Linked DNA regions of Homo sapiens: regions 2, 3 and 4 are each linked to region 1. The links are contacts of gene promoters, found by promoter capture Hi-C in blood cells and fetal thymus (Javierre and others, 2016). All regions are on one chromosome and are shown on one strand. The core of a region is centred on a gene start or on the middle of the fragment in contact, and the rest is flanking DNA. Distances in the headings are between cores, read along the strand shown.

Evidence for each region. Contacts are between HindIII fragments. The CHiCAGO score rates a contact against its expected background, and 5 or more counts as called.
Region 2: a fragment that was not itself captured here is called in contact with the fragment with the promoter of UQCRC2 in region 1 in 1 of 17 cell types (M1 macrophages); the score reaches 5.0 in M1 macrophages.
Region 3: a contact is called between a fragment that was not itself captured here and the fragment with the promoter of UQCRC2 in region 1, in 1 of 17 cell types (naive CD8 T cells). The highest score is 5.7, in naive CD8 T cells.
Region 4: a contact is called between a fragment that was not itself captured here and the fragment with the promoter of UQCRC2 in region 1, in 3 of 17 cell types (M2 macrophages, neutrophils and total CD4 T cells). The highest score is 7.3, in M2 macrophages.

The regions. Positions count from the first base shown.
Region 1 is chr16:21,952,046-21,955,405 of GRCh38, reverse strand. It overlaps UQCRC2 (ubiquinol-cytochrome c reductase core protein 2), which reads right to left and starts at 2,045. Exons shown (of 14, transcript NM_003366.4): 1 at 1,950-2,045. The coding sequence starts at 1,982. RefSeq lists enhancers at 1,703-1,752, 1,763-1,932, 1,447-2,164, 2,253-2,712. The HindIII fragment of the contact is 11,485 bases long and covers 1-3,360 here.
Region 2 is chr16:21,668,585-21,671,786 of GRCh38, reverse strand. The region is part of intron 1 of OTOA (otoancorin); the gene reads right to left. Among named protein-coding and RNA genes, the nearest start is that of OTOA, 6.2 kb to the right of the region's middle. The HindIII fragment of the contact is 1,506 bases long and covers 768-2,273 here.
Region 3 is chr16:22,253,202-22,256,835 of GRCh38, reverse strand. It overlaps EEF2K (eukaryotic elongation factor 2 kinase), which reads right to left. Exons shown (of 18, transcript NM_013302.5): 7 at 1-88. Among named protein-coding and RNA genes, the nearest start is that of TRL-AAG2-4, 42 kb to the left of the region's middle. The HindIII fragment of the contact is 2,081 bases long and covers 1,287-3,367 here.
Region 4 is chr16:21,564,230-21,567,575 of GRCh38, reverse strand. No RefSeq gene overlaps it. Among named protein-coding and RNA genes, the nearest start is that of METTL9, 34 kb to the left of the region's middle. The HindIII fragment of the contact is 1,772 bases long and covers 724-2,495 here.

The DNA.
Region 1 (3,360 bases), core at 796-3,295:
CTGCAATGCCTCCACTCTGTGCTGTCCAGAAGGCTGTTTGTTGTACATCATTAGTGCTGTACTAGGTTGGCTGCTGGTTATCACTTGCTTTTAGTACTGCTTTTCAGTTATGAATTACAATTAGCTTTACTTTATCGTCATCAATTTAGTTTGCTGGGTATGGTATAGTTAACCTTCTTTGTAATTTTGGCCTATAATTTTCCAAAAAGTAAACTTTTAAGATATATGGGCATAGCAATTCAAATATGAATAATCTATAATTCCGTTACCAAGTGAGATTTTAGGTGTTTTCCAACCAAATGTGCCCAAATAGTAACTCTTTGTTGGTAATTTTTTTTTTTTTTTTTTTTTGAGACGGAGTCTCGCTCTGTCGTCTAGGCTGGAGTGCAGCGGTGCGATCTCGGCTCACTGCAACCTCCGCCTCCTGGGTTCAAGAGATTCTCCTGCCTCAGCCTCCTGAGTAGCTGGGATTAGAGGCGCCCACCACCACCACGCCCGGCTATTTTTTTTTTTTTTGTATTTTTAGTAGAGACGGGGTTTCACCATGATGGCCAGACTGGTTTCGAACTCCTCATCTCAAGTGATCCGCCTGCCTCTGACTCCCAAAGTGCTAGGATTACAGGTGTGAGCCATCGCGCTCCGCCGGTAATGTGCTTCTTAATCGTCCCATTCAAATCAGCAAATTATCCTAGTAACTGTCATGCAATCTTCTAAATTATTTTGTTCTAATAACAAGATATATCTAAGTTTATTCTCCTATATAAAGTGCTAAAATTAGACACATAAATAATTGCTTTCAAGTTTACTGCAATTTGTTTACTTTGGGCCTCTCCAACTGTTTTCTCTGAGCTTTTTCTGTTGCAAAATAGAATGGAGAAGGAAATGTTGGGGTCTTTTGCCAATCTAACCGTGCTTCCCTCCAAGGGTAATCACTGGTGTGTCTAGGTATACCTGGAAGGTTAATGCAATTACAGCCTAAATCGATATAGCCCACAGCACATTTATGTAAACATAAAGCATAAGAACATTCCATGCCCAGGTCTGGTCTTCTGCATCTCCATCTAGGGGGGTTTCTCAACACAGGTACTACTACTGGCACTTGGGGCTAGATAATTCTTTGCTGTAAGGCGAAGTTTAGCAGCATCCCTGGCCTCTCCATGCCAATAGCACCCTCCTTACAAGTTGTTGCAACTAAATATGTCTCCAAACATCGCCACCGGTTCCCTGGGGGCATTCTGTCCCTCGCTATGATTTTTTAAGTGTTCCCCCTTACCCCTCTTAATAACCACTGTCCCACAGTGATATAACCCTGATGTGTGAGTTTTCCCCAAGTGACAGCTATGTTTAATTTAGGCTTGAAGGGGAAACTTAATTAAGGAGCTTTTGAGGACAAACAGAGACGTCTTGGAGGAACCGTCTAACATACGATCAAGAAAAGCAACGTTAGACTACTAAGACACCATAGTATTTAACAATGAAGTTCCAGGTACTGTAATAAGTGTTCTATCTGCATTAGCTCCTTTCTTATACTTTTATTCGCTGGGGAAACTGACGCTCCGTGATAAACCAAGGAGCAGAGGCTGCAGCGGATAAAGTGAAGGTGGGGGGCTAAGTGCGCCGTCCTCCCGCTCCCCCTGGGTTTCACGGTCTCTTTCTCCAGCACTTGAGTACCGGAGTGACCTTCAGAAGTCTCTCCAAGGACTCGCTTCAACTCCGCTCTCACGTCCTGCCCCTCTCTTCAGGTTTCCCGGTGTTAGGTCTCTTGTGCTCACAGCATGAGCTGGGCCTCCAAAGCCTGACCCAGTCTGCAGCCCACTTGGCCCGCAGGGTTCAGCTGAAGGGCAGACCGAATCCCAAGGCCCAGACCCCAGACCAGACACCTCCGCCTCGTATCACCTTGTCGACACACTGCTCCCCAGCCCTTTCCCAAACCCGCCACCTGAGCTCACCGAGAAAGAGCCGGCTCTGGTTAGTAGCTTCATGATTCAAGATTGTTCTGACACACGGTCACTGCCGGATTAAAGGAAAGCAAGATGGTGGCGGAGGCCGGGAGTTTCCCAGCGTTCCCCGCTAACACTTTCCCACGTCCCCTTCGTGAGGTACTCTCTATACTGCCGCGCTCTACTGCTCTCTTTATAAGGTTGGACCAGTCCAATTCCTCCAAGACTCAGAATAGGGAGACGCACAATTTCCCAAGTAAATATATGCAGAGAATAATGTACGTCACTGCTTTTTGCGTTCTTCTCCTAGCCTGAATATCCAGTATGCACCCCTTTTCTAAGTACGTCTGCAGCAGCCTGTCACAACTCCCCCCGCTATCTTGGGCTCTTCCGCTCAGCATTGTCCAATGGGACGCGCCTCTCTTGGGACTCCGCATGCGCCCTCCGGGATGACACCTGCACTGGAGGCCCTGGGTTTCCGCGTTCCTGGACGTTGGAGGCTTCAGGAGATTCCTGCCACTCCACCTTTCTGCAGAGGTATTGGGTATCGAAGCCCGGCGTAGTTGCCTCTCGCTGGGTGAAGTCCTTACTGGATCTTTAGCTCCGTGAAACAGGGGCCTCGTTCAACGTATTCGCCGCTGTGTCCCCCAGAGCAGGCCCGGGACACACCGGGAGGGTCAGCAACCTCGGGGAATCATCACAAGGCTTTTGGTCTCGTGGAATTTACGTCCTAGGCTGGGGCTACATAGAATATAAAAACTTAGCTATAGTTTTTGTGTTAGGAAAATAGAAATGTTTTGGATAGTAGGTGTGTTATGTGAGCCGAAACCGGCAGTTGGAGAAAGTCAGTCACGTGACGACTTGGGGCGGGGGCGTTCACTCCGGTCCTCAGCGAGTGTTAACCCAGAAAGTGCCTTGAGCTAGGCACTATGCCAACGCGAGAGGCGTGGTCCCTGCCCTTTAGGGACTTTAGAGTTTCGTACCTTGCTACGTTGCTTGGTTGGGAAACCGACAGTATCAGCATCAATATCATTTAGGAGTTGATTAGAAATGTATGAACTCCAGGTCCCATATTGGATCCGAATCGGTGTTTTTACAAGATCCTGGGATGACTTCGTATGCACAATAGTTTCAGAAAGGCTGGTGGTGTAGACGTTACAAGGCATAGGCAAATGTACTTTCTTTTTGCCTTGTGTCTGAATTGCTCCAGGCCTACAACGGACTTGGGCTCTCTAATTAAGATCTGGGCATTAAGAACCTGGCACCAACCCAATTTCTGTGCCTGCTGGGGACGCCCTCAACCCAATTCATACCACACAGTTTCCCCACATGTGGTAGATTTAACACTAGTGGTGCGTGAGATGATTTTAAGTTGGTACATAGATGAACACTTCCATTTTTTCCTTTTAAAAATTTGTAT
Region 2 (3,202 bases), core at 271-2,770, 280 kb after region 1:
GAACTGTACACTTAGTGTGCATTGTATTGCCTGTAAATTTATACCTCACAAAAGTCAGTATCAAACAGAAATGGAAAAGCATGGACTGTGGAGCCAGTCACCTGTTCTGAATCACGTCTCCGCCACTTACTAGCTGTGCAATGTTGGACATATTTCTTTCTTTTTTTTTTTCTTTTTTCTTTTTTCTTTTTTTTTTTTTTGATATGGAGTCTTACTCTCTTGCCCAGGCTGGAGTGCAGTGGTGCAATGTAGGCTCACTGCAACCTCTGCTTCCCAGGTTCAAGCGATTCTTCTGCCTCAGCCTCCTGAGTAGCTAGGATTACAGGTACCCACCACCACACCAGGCTAAGTTTTGTATTTTTAGTAGAGACAGGCTCCCACCATGTTGGCCAGGCTGATCTCGAACTCCTGACCTCAAGTGATCCACCCACTTTGGCCTCCCAAAGTGCTGAGATTACAGGTGTGAGCCACTGAGCCCGGCCTTGGACGAGTTTCTTAATCTCTCTGCACTCCAATTTTCTCGTCTGTAAAATGAGATTAATGATGGTACCAGCATCACTGTGTCGTATGAGGGTAAAATGAGTTGTTAATAGTGAATCACTTCAAACAGGGCTTGACACAAAGTCAGCTCTGTATACAAGTTTATTAAATAAGCAAAGAAACCAGATTGCTGTTTTCAAACAGATGCTGTTTTGAAAAACACCATCTCAATAAACTCATGTCACCCTCCGCCTCTCCCCATTACCCTCAAGATAAAGCCCAAAGCTTTTCCAGTGGCTGTATCACCCTCCTCTTTGCCCCTCATTCCCCAAGGTTCCTGCCCGGGCCATCTGTCTGTCCCTCCAAGGTGCTATCCTCCCCAGATTAAGACCCTCTCACAGGCTGTTCCTCGGCCCAGAGGATTCTTCCCCTTCCTCTTTGCCCGGCTAAGATCAATTCATTGTAAATTTCAAGTCTTCAATGAAGCCTTCCCTGAATTCTCTGACCAGGCCAAAGCAATTAGCCAGAAGAAAAGGCCAATACTTCTCTTTTATAGCACCAAGCACAGCTATAATACATATTTATGTTTGTGTAATTATTTCATGCTTTCATTCTTCAAATATTTGTTGAGTAGTGCTGTGAGCCAGGCATTATTCTATGCTCTGAGAATACAGCAGTTTACAAAACTAACTCCCTGCTGGTGTGTTGGAATGAACCAGGCAGAAAATAGATAATCAAATAACTATATTATGTCAGGGAGTGATGAGTGCCATGGAGAAAAATACAACAGGGTAGGAAAAAGGAGCCAAAGAAGGAGCAGGTACTATTATAGACAGTTTGGTCAGGGAAGACCTGAGGAGGTGACATTTAAGCAGAGACCTCAGGAAGTGAAGGAATGAACCACGGGAATATCTGGAGAAAGAAAGTTCCAGAAAGAAAAGAAAATGACAGTGCAAAGGCTTTGATATTAGGAGCATAATTTGCATGTTCTTCAGTAAATTGCACGAAGAGGATATAACAGTAGGACATGGGGTTGGAGAGGTATCAGGGCCAGAGTGAGTAGGGTCTTTCAGGCCATTGTGAGCGCTCTGACTTTTACTTGGAGGGAGGTGGGAGCCACTGAAGGGATATTAGCCAGGATGGATGCTCTGACTTGTTTTTGTTTTTGTTTTGTTTTGTTTGAGATGGTGTCTCACTCTGTCGCCCAGGCTAGAGTGCAGTGGCACAATCTCAGCTCACTGCAACCTCTGCCTCCCCGGCTCAAGTGATTCTCCTGCCTCAGCCTCTCAAGTAGCTGGGATTATAGGTGCCCACCACCACACCCAGCTAATTTTTATATTTTTGGTAGAGACGAGATTTCACCCTGTTGGCCAGGCTGGTCTCGAACTCCTAAGCTCAAGTGATCCACCCACCTCAGCCTCCCAAAGCTCTGGGATGACAGGTGTGAGCCACTGTGCCTGGCCCTGACTTTTATTTTAACTGGATCAAGCACATTGATTGCTGTGTTGAGAATACCCTGGAGTGGAACAATGGCTGTAGCAGGCAGACCAATCTAGGAAAGAGATGACAATAACTTGGTCATTGATAGCAGTGAAGGTGGTGAGAAGTGGTTGGATTTTGGAGGTATTTGGAAGGCGGAACCAAAAGATCGAATGTAGGGAATAAAAGAAATAGACAGGTCAAAGACAACGCCAAGGATTTGGCCTGAGCATGTAGAGAGGGAGATGGGAAAACCATAGGAGTTCCAAGTTTAGGGAAGGATCCCTGGAGCTCAGTTTTGGACATACTAAGCTTGAGAAGCCTTTTAGAGTGCAGATAGCATAGCAAGTAGGCAGTTTGATGTTTGAGCCTGCAGGTTAGGGGAGAGGTGCTGTCAGAAGCAGCTATCTAAACAGAGATAGTCAGTGGTTTTTTGTGTTTGCTTTTTTGTTTGTTCTTCTGTTTTGGGGGTTTTTTTGGGGTGGGGGACAGAGTCTCACTCTGTCACGCACGCTGGAGTGCAGTGGCACGATCTCAGCTCACTGCAACCTCTGCCTCCCAGGTTCAAGTGATTCTTGTGTCTCAACCTCCCGAGTAGCTGGGATTACAGGCTTGTGCCACCGCACCGGCTAATTTTTGTATTTTTAGTAGAGACGGGGTTTCACCATGTTGGCCAGGCTGGTCTCAAACTCATGACCTCAAGGGATCCACCTGACACAGGCTCCCAAAGTGCTGGGATTACAGGCATGTAATCCCACTGCACCCGGCCCCAGATAGTCAGCATGTATTTAAACCCTGAATGATATCACCAAGAAAGTAAATTTACGGAGAAATTAGGTGAGTTTTAAGGACTGAGACCCATGGCACCCCCATTGCCAAGACGTTGAGTAGACTAGGTGCAGCCAGAGAAATCAAGACTGTGGAAAACTCCCCAAAACAAACAACCTAGTTTCTTTAGCCAATATATTACAGAGAGAGAGAGAAAGAGAACCTATTAACTCAAAAACAAAAGATTGATCACTTGTAGAATCTAGACTTTATTTGGATCCTGATTCAAACACGTCATGTCTGGGCACGGTGGCTCACACCTGTAATCCCAGCACTTTGGGAGGCCGAGGCGGGCAGATCACTTGAGGTCAGGAGTTTGAGACCAGCCTGACCAACATGGTGAAAACCCATCTCTACTAAAGATACAAAAACTTAGCTGGGCATGGTGGCGCATGCTAATAATCCCAGCTACTCG
Region 3 (3,634 bases), core at 1,078-3,577, 300 kb before region 1:
ACTTGCCCTCGATGTAGTGCTCCAGGTGGAAGAGGGGCTTGCCCGGTCTGTCCTTCAGCTCGATGATGCACATCTGCATGATGTCCACCTGGTGGGATGGGGAGTGGGCTCAGGCGGGAGGGCCCAGGCGCACCTCCTCTGAGAAGCGGCAAGGGGAGGGCTCAGAGGAACTCGCCTGCCTGGGCTCAGACCCTGGCTCCATGACTTACTAGCTCTCTATTGTAGGAGCTCCTGATGATGCCCAGAATCTAATCTCCTCTTTTCCTTTAATTTTTTTAAAATTAAAAAAAATATATTTTTAGGCTGGGCACGGTGGCTTACATCTGTAATCCCAGCACTTTGGGAGGCTGAGGCAGGTGAATCAGTTGAGGTTAGGAGTTCGAGACCAGCCTGGCCAACATGGTGAAATCCTGCCTCTACTAAAAATACAAAAATTAAGGCTGGGCATGGTGGCTCACACCTGTAATCCCAGCCCTTTGGGAGGCCAAGGTGTGTGGATCACCTGAGGCCAGGAGTTGGAGACCAACCGTGGCCAACATGGTGAAACCCTGTCTCTACCAAAAATACAAAATTAGCCAGGCATGGTGGCACATGCCTGTAATCCCAGCTACTCTGGAGGCTGAGGCAGGAGAATCACTTGAACCTGGGAGGCAGAGGTTGCAGTGAGCCAAGATTGCACCACTGCACTCCAGCCCTGAGCAACAAGAGCAAAACTCCGTCTCAAAAAAAAAATTAATAAAATAAAAATACAAAAATTAGCTGGGCGTGCTTGTGCGTACCAAAAATCCCAGCTACTCAGGGTGTCGAGGCAGGAGTATCACTTTAACCCAGGAGGCAGAGGTTGCAGTGAGCCAAGATCATGTCACTGCACTCCAGCCTGGATGACAGAGTGAGACTCCGTCTTAAAAAAAAAAAAATTTATTTTAGAGACAGGGTCTCACTCTGTCGCCCAGGCTGGAGTGCAGTGTCATAATCATGGCTCATTACAGCCTCATACTTCTGGGCTCAAGTGATCCTCCCACCTCAGCCTCCCGAGAAGCTAGGACTACAGGCGTGTGTCACTACACATGGCTCATATCTAAATTTTTTTATAGAGACGAGGTCTCACTATGTTGCCTAGGCTGGTCTTGAACTGGCCTCAAGAACTGGCCTCAAGCAATCCTCTTGTCTTCCAGCATCCTCCCAGAGCATTAGGATGACAAGCTGCAGCCACTGTGCTCAGCTCTGTTTTCCTTTGAGTTTTAAAAGGGTACACAGCCACCCACTAGGGATGACATTGCTAAGCTTCCCTTGCAGCTAAGTGTGGCCACATGACTGTGCCCAGCCAATGGGAAGTGAGCATTGCAATGATGTAACTCCAGCCTGCCCTGTAAGGTGGACTCTGCTTGGGAGCCAGAATTGATTATGTGGTCCATGGCAAACCCCTGAGGGGATGGCAGAGAAAAAAGACCAAAGGAACGAGTTCTCTAGATGGCTTCAAGGAGATGAGGCACAAACAAGCCTACCCCAAGCCACCCACCAATGCAAGACCTCCACACAAGTGAAAAAGAAACCATTTCGTGTCCACACATATTTTGTGGGTCTGTTTGCTAAGCAACTTAGACTATGCCTTACAGTAAAACTGTGAATTTGGGAACATTTCTGAATTTCACCTCTCTGTGCCTCAGTTTCTTTACCTGCATAAAGAGGGTCTCAGGCTCAGTCTGTGAATTAAACTTATTGATGCAAAAAGGAGCCAGGCAATGTTTGCTTTCATTTTATTTTATATTTTATTGCCCAGGCTGTTGCCCAGGCTGGACTGCAGTGGCACGATCTTGGCTCACTGCAACCTCTGCCTCCCAGGTTCAAGCAATTCCTCTGCCTCAGCCTCTTGAGTAGCTGGGACTACAGGCACCCGCCTCCATGCCTGCCTAATTTTTGTATTTTTAGTAGAGATGGGTTTTACCATGTTGGCCAGGCTGGTCTTGAACTCCTGACCTCAAGTGATCCGCCCCCCCACCCCGGGCTTTCCAAAGTGCTGAGATTACAAGCATGAGCCACTGTGCCTGGCAACTCATTTTTATCAGGAGCTACAATTCTAGAGAAATATAAACCAACCTCTAAACAGCAGTTTTCTCCCTGCAATGGGAAATTATAGGGAACTTTGACATTCCTTGCCGAATTTTTTTTGTTTTTATAAAGTCTATGTTTAATTTTGTACACAGAAGAAAATGTATAAATAGTGCATATGGTTTGTAAAGTGGAGTAGGGGAGATTAGGGACTCTAGCTTGCACCTCTTGCCCTGTTACACAAGGACTCATCCTTGGTTCCCATGTCCTCCTCAATGCCACCTCCTGGGAGGATTAGGTCCAGGTTTCCCAAGGAAACGACCATCCATGGAGAGTGGGTCACCAGACATGCAGACAACAGATGCAGAGGCCGAAGGGGTCCTGATCTGAGAGGTGAGAACTTGCCCCAAACAAGGCTTCAATGGGTTCTGAGAACCGGCCTGAGGGGAAGGCAGGGAGCGGCGGTTCTCAGAGGGTTCTGCCCAAAGGCTGGTCCCATCCCTACAAGGAAACTTACAGCAGGGCCACCTGCTGGGCCAGAGGGCTCCCTGGGCGAGGGGCAGTGGTACAGCCACAGTGGACAACCAGCACCTTCTCAAACAACCACGTCTCTCTCCCTCCCTTAAGTCAACCACATTATTATTATTATTATTATTATTGTTACTACTACTACTACTACTACTATTTGGGGATGGAGTCTTGCTCTGTCACCCAGGCCGGAGTGCAGTAGCCCAATCTCGGCTCACTGCAGCCTCCGCCTCTCGTGTTCAAGTGATTCTCCTGCCTCAGCCTCCCAAGTAGCTGGGATTACAGGCGTGCACCACCATGCCCAGCTAATTTTGTATTTTTAGTAGAGGCGGGGGTTTCACCATGTTGGCCAGGCTGGTCTCGAACTCCTGACCTCAGGTGATCCGCCCACTTCAGCCTCCCAAAGTGCTGGGATTACAGGCATGAGCCACTGTGCCAGGCCTACCACAGTATTATTTACTGGACACCTAGGCACTAGGAGACAGCAGTGAACATGATAAAATAAAATCTCTGCCTTTAGGGGAGAGAAGCACCTAAAATATTAACTAAATGAATGACATACTAACTGCTCCAAAGAACAGGAAAAAAAAAAAAAGTTAGAATGATGTGACAGAGGTGACTGGGGCAGAGGGACCACTTCTTAGGGTTGTCTGAGATGGGCTGGCTGAGGAGGTGACACAGGATCTGAGACCTGAACTATAAGAAGTAGCTAGCCATGCAAGAATTACGGTGACACAAGATGCCCGCCAAGCCCACAGCCAGGGCCAAGGTTTTGGGGCAGGAACAAGCTTGTGGAGGAAGAGAAAGGAGGCCAGGCTGGAAGGCCGCAAATTGCAGAGGAAGCCACAGCCCCCCAGGGTGGGGACTGTGGCTTCTTGCGCCTGCCTCAAGTATGCTTCATCAAGGGCTCTGCAAACAGCAGGTGCTCAATAAATTCTGCACACCCAGGAGACTGTGCGTTGTATGTAGTAGATGCTCAAGCTGTGGAAGATCTCAGCTGTGGGCTCATGCAGGGCAGAGGCATGGATCCTTCCTCAAATGCCGAAAGGCAACAGGG
Region 4 (3,346 bases), core at 360-2,859, 390 kb after region 1:
ATTGCTTGAACCTGGGAGGCAGAGGTTGCAGTGAGCCGAGATCATGCCACTACACTCCAGCCTGGGTGACAGAGCAAAACCAGAAGAAGAAGAAGATAAAAGATAAAAGCCATAGCTGGGAATGTCCTTGGTGCTCTGAACTGGATGACATTTGTTAGGCATGGCCATCCCACAGACTCACTGCTCCTCAAGATCACCCTTCAGTTATCCAAGAACTGATGGTTACCTACCCATGCTCTGCTCTTCTGCTGCTACTTTCTGGGCTCTGAGATGACCACAGAGGCCAGGGTCAAATGCTGGGCCACTCACCACATACTGATGATGCTGTCAAAATGTGGTTACCCTTCTGCTCCACCTCAATTATCTGTGGAAAACCTAATTTAAGGGGTATATGGTGTTTTGTCTGCCCGCATTTCTTCCTGTAAGAAACACGCTTTCCCCTCTTCCCTAGTAAACTGTCTCAGTCCTTACGAGTTGGTGGAGCTGGACTGCCTCACTTCCATCCCCAAGGTCAGGTACATGCCCAGATCTGGTCAGAGGACTTCATGTGTCAAGGTACAACTACTGCCTCAGCCATGAGCACTTGACTCATACAGTGCCCATTAGCGTCCACCTGGGGACTTTTTCTGTGCTACTGGAACAAAAGTGCATGTTTCCTCACCATCTTGGGCTGTTAGCCCTATGTGAACATGGAGGTATCTTGCTGCCATGCGATGAAAAGCTTATACACAACGCAGAGGGTAAGTCAGAGAAACTAGTTAATGACATAATTTGAGATCCAAATCTGCCTGACTTTTCAGCTACAGAAGCCAATAAATTCCCTTTTTTTTCTTTTTTTCTTTTTTTTTGAGACAGAGTCTCACTGTCGCCCAGGCTGGAGTACAGTGGCGTGATCTTGGCTCACTGCAACTTCCACCTCCCGGGTTCAAGTGATTCTTCTGCCTCAGCCTCCAGAGTAGCTGGGACTACAGGCGTGCACTACCATGCCTGGCTAATTTTTTGTATTTATAGTACAGGCAGGGTTTCACCGTGTTGCCCGGGCTGGTTTAGAACTTCTGACCTTAGGTGATCCACCCGCCTCGGCCTCCCAAAATGCTGGGATTATAGGCATGAGCCACTGTTCCCAGCCCGAATTCCTTTTTTATTTAAGCTAACCTGCATTGAATTTCTGTCACTTGTAGCCAAAGTGGTTTGAATAATGCACCTTTCCAATTGGCACTTGTGCCCAAATTACCATAAACTGGCTGTCTCTGACCACTCTAGGGAAAGGATTCAGTGATTTCTAATTGACCACTACCAGTGAAGACATGGGAGGTTTGAAATAGCTGAGCCCAGATTCTGAGAACGACAGGACAAGGTCATGATTGTACTTTTGAACTTGATGTTGGAGGTGTTCACAAGCATGACGCCTCTCCTGGACTTTGTTTACTGATAGGAACCACAAGATAGACGAGACAGCAGAATTAGGCCAACAATGGGTGCAAGGTGCCAAAAAGGTAATAGAAACCCAAGTTCCACTTTGAAGCAGCATAAATCAGACATTTCTCAAACATTAAAAACGGAAGTGGCCTGATCAAGACCTTTAAACGGAGTAAAAAGCCACGAAGCCAAGGCCTTGAGCAGCTAGTCAGAGAATTATTGCAATATGTGCTCAGAGACACAGGGTTTCATGAAAAGCCCAGTCTCTGCCTGGCTGCAGCACCTCTGTGCTTTTTGTCCCAGCATTTGCTTAGCAGCAGAACCTCATTATCCTTCAGTGTTCTGTAGTTATAACAGATTCCAGCTTCAGGGGGAAAAAAATGGATTCCAGCTGCCAGGGGTTCTCTCTGGGAGATTTTCTATCTCTGAGACGAAATTGTCTTTTTCTCCCTTTTTTCATGGTGAGAGGGGCATGGAGTACACCTCTGATAATCTGCAGAGGCAAAGCCTTGCATGAGCATGCTGACAACCCTGCAGAGAGAAAGCCTTAGGCTGGAAGTTCAAGGGCAGCCAGGAGAATGAACATTTCGATGAATAAAGCAATTTGATAACTACCATGTTGTGGTCTAAGACCCACCACTTACAGGCTTACATGGTGATTACTGAAGCTGCAACTATTTTAATGGCTTCATCTACTTTAAAGTACTGGTGATTTTTCTACTACTTCATTTAATTGCTTGATGTTTCTTGGAAGAGTTCTTCGGTCTTTCTGCTAAAATGTTATCCCAAGCTAGGAGAGATGCCATGATTTCAGAGAATTTCTTTTCCTCTATAATATTATATATTTTCCTCTGGGTTATCAATGAACCTACTGACTACTTTGAGTATTATGCCTTTAGGATGTCTTCACCTCTCATTTCCTTAACATTTTTAAATGAATCTCTGATAGAAAAATGAATCTGAAGCCTTGCTTATGCTTTGATTCATTCAACAAATATTTATTGCACACTTACTGTTTTAGATGCCTGGGATACAGAGTAAATAAATCAACAATGATCCTTGCCTTCAACAAAGCTTACATTCTGGTGGAGGCAAAGAGATAATACATAAATAAATTTAATATCATCTTTTGTAATAATAACCATTACACCTCTGCTTATGAAAAAAATTGCATTCAATTTTTGCTCACAATCTTCTTTTTTTTTTTTTTTTTTTTGAGACAGAGTCTCACTCTGCCACCTAGGCTGGAGTGCAGTGGCATAATCATACTTCACTGCAACCTCTGCCTCCTGGGCTCAAGTGACCCTCCTGCATCAGCCCCACAAGTAGCTGGGACTACAGATGCATGCCACAATGCCCAGCTAATTTTTCTATTTTTTGTAGAGATGGGATTTTGCCATGTTTCCCAGGCTGGTCTTGAACTCCTAGGCTCAAATGATCTGCCTACCTCGGCCTCCCAAAGTGCTGGGATTACAGGCACTGAGCCACTATGCTCAACTAATCTTCTGTTCCCTTCCTTCCTTCCTTTTCCTTCCTTCCTTCCTCTCTCTCTCTTCCTTCCTTCCTCTCTCTCTTCCTTCCTTCCCTTCCTTCCCTTCCCCTCTTCCTTTCTCTCTCTCTCTTTTCTTTCTTTTTTCTGACAGAGTCTTGCTCTGTCACTCAGGCTGGAGTGCAGTGGCACAATCTTGGCTCACTGCAACCTCCACCTCCTGGGTTCAAGTGATTCTCTTACCTCAGCCTCCTGAGTAGTTGGTATTACAGGCACACACCACCACAGCCAGCTACTTTTTTTTTTTTGTATTTTTAGTAGAGACGGGGTCTTGCTATGATGCCCAGGCTGGTCTCAAACTCCTAGACTCAAGTGATCTGCCTGCCTCAGCCTTCTAAGGTGCTGGGATTACAGGCATGAGCCACTGCACCCAGCCTA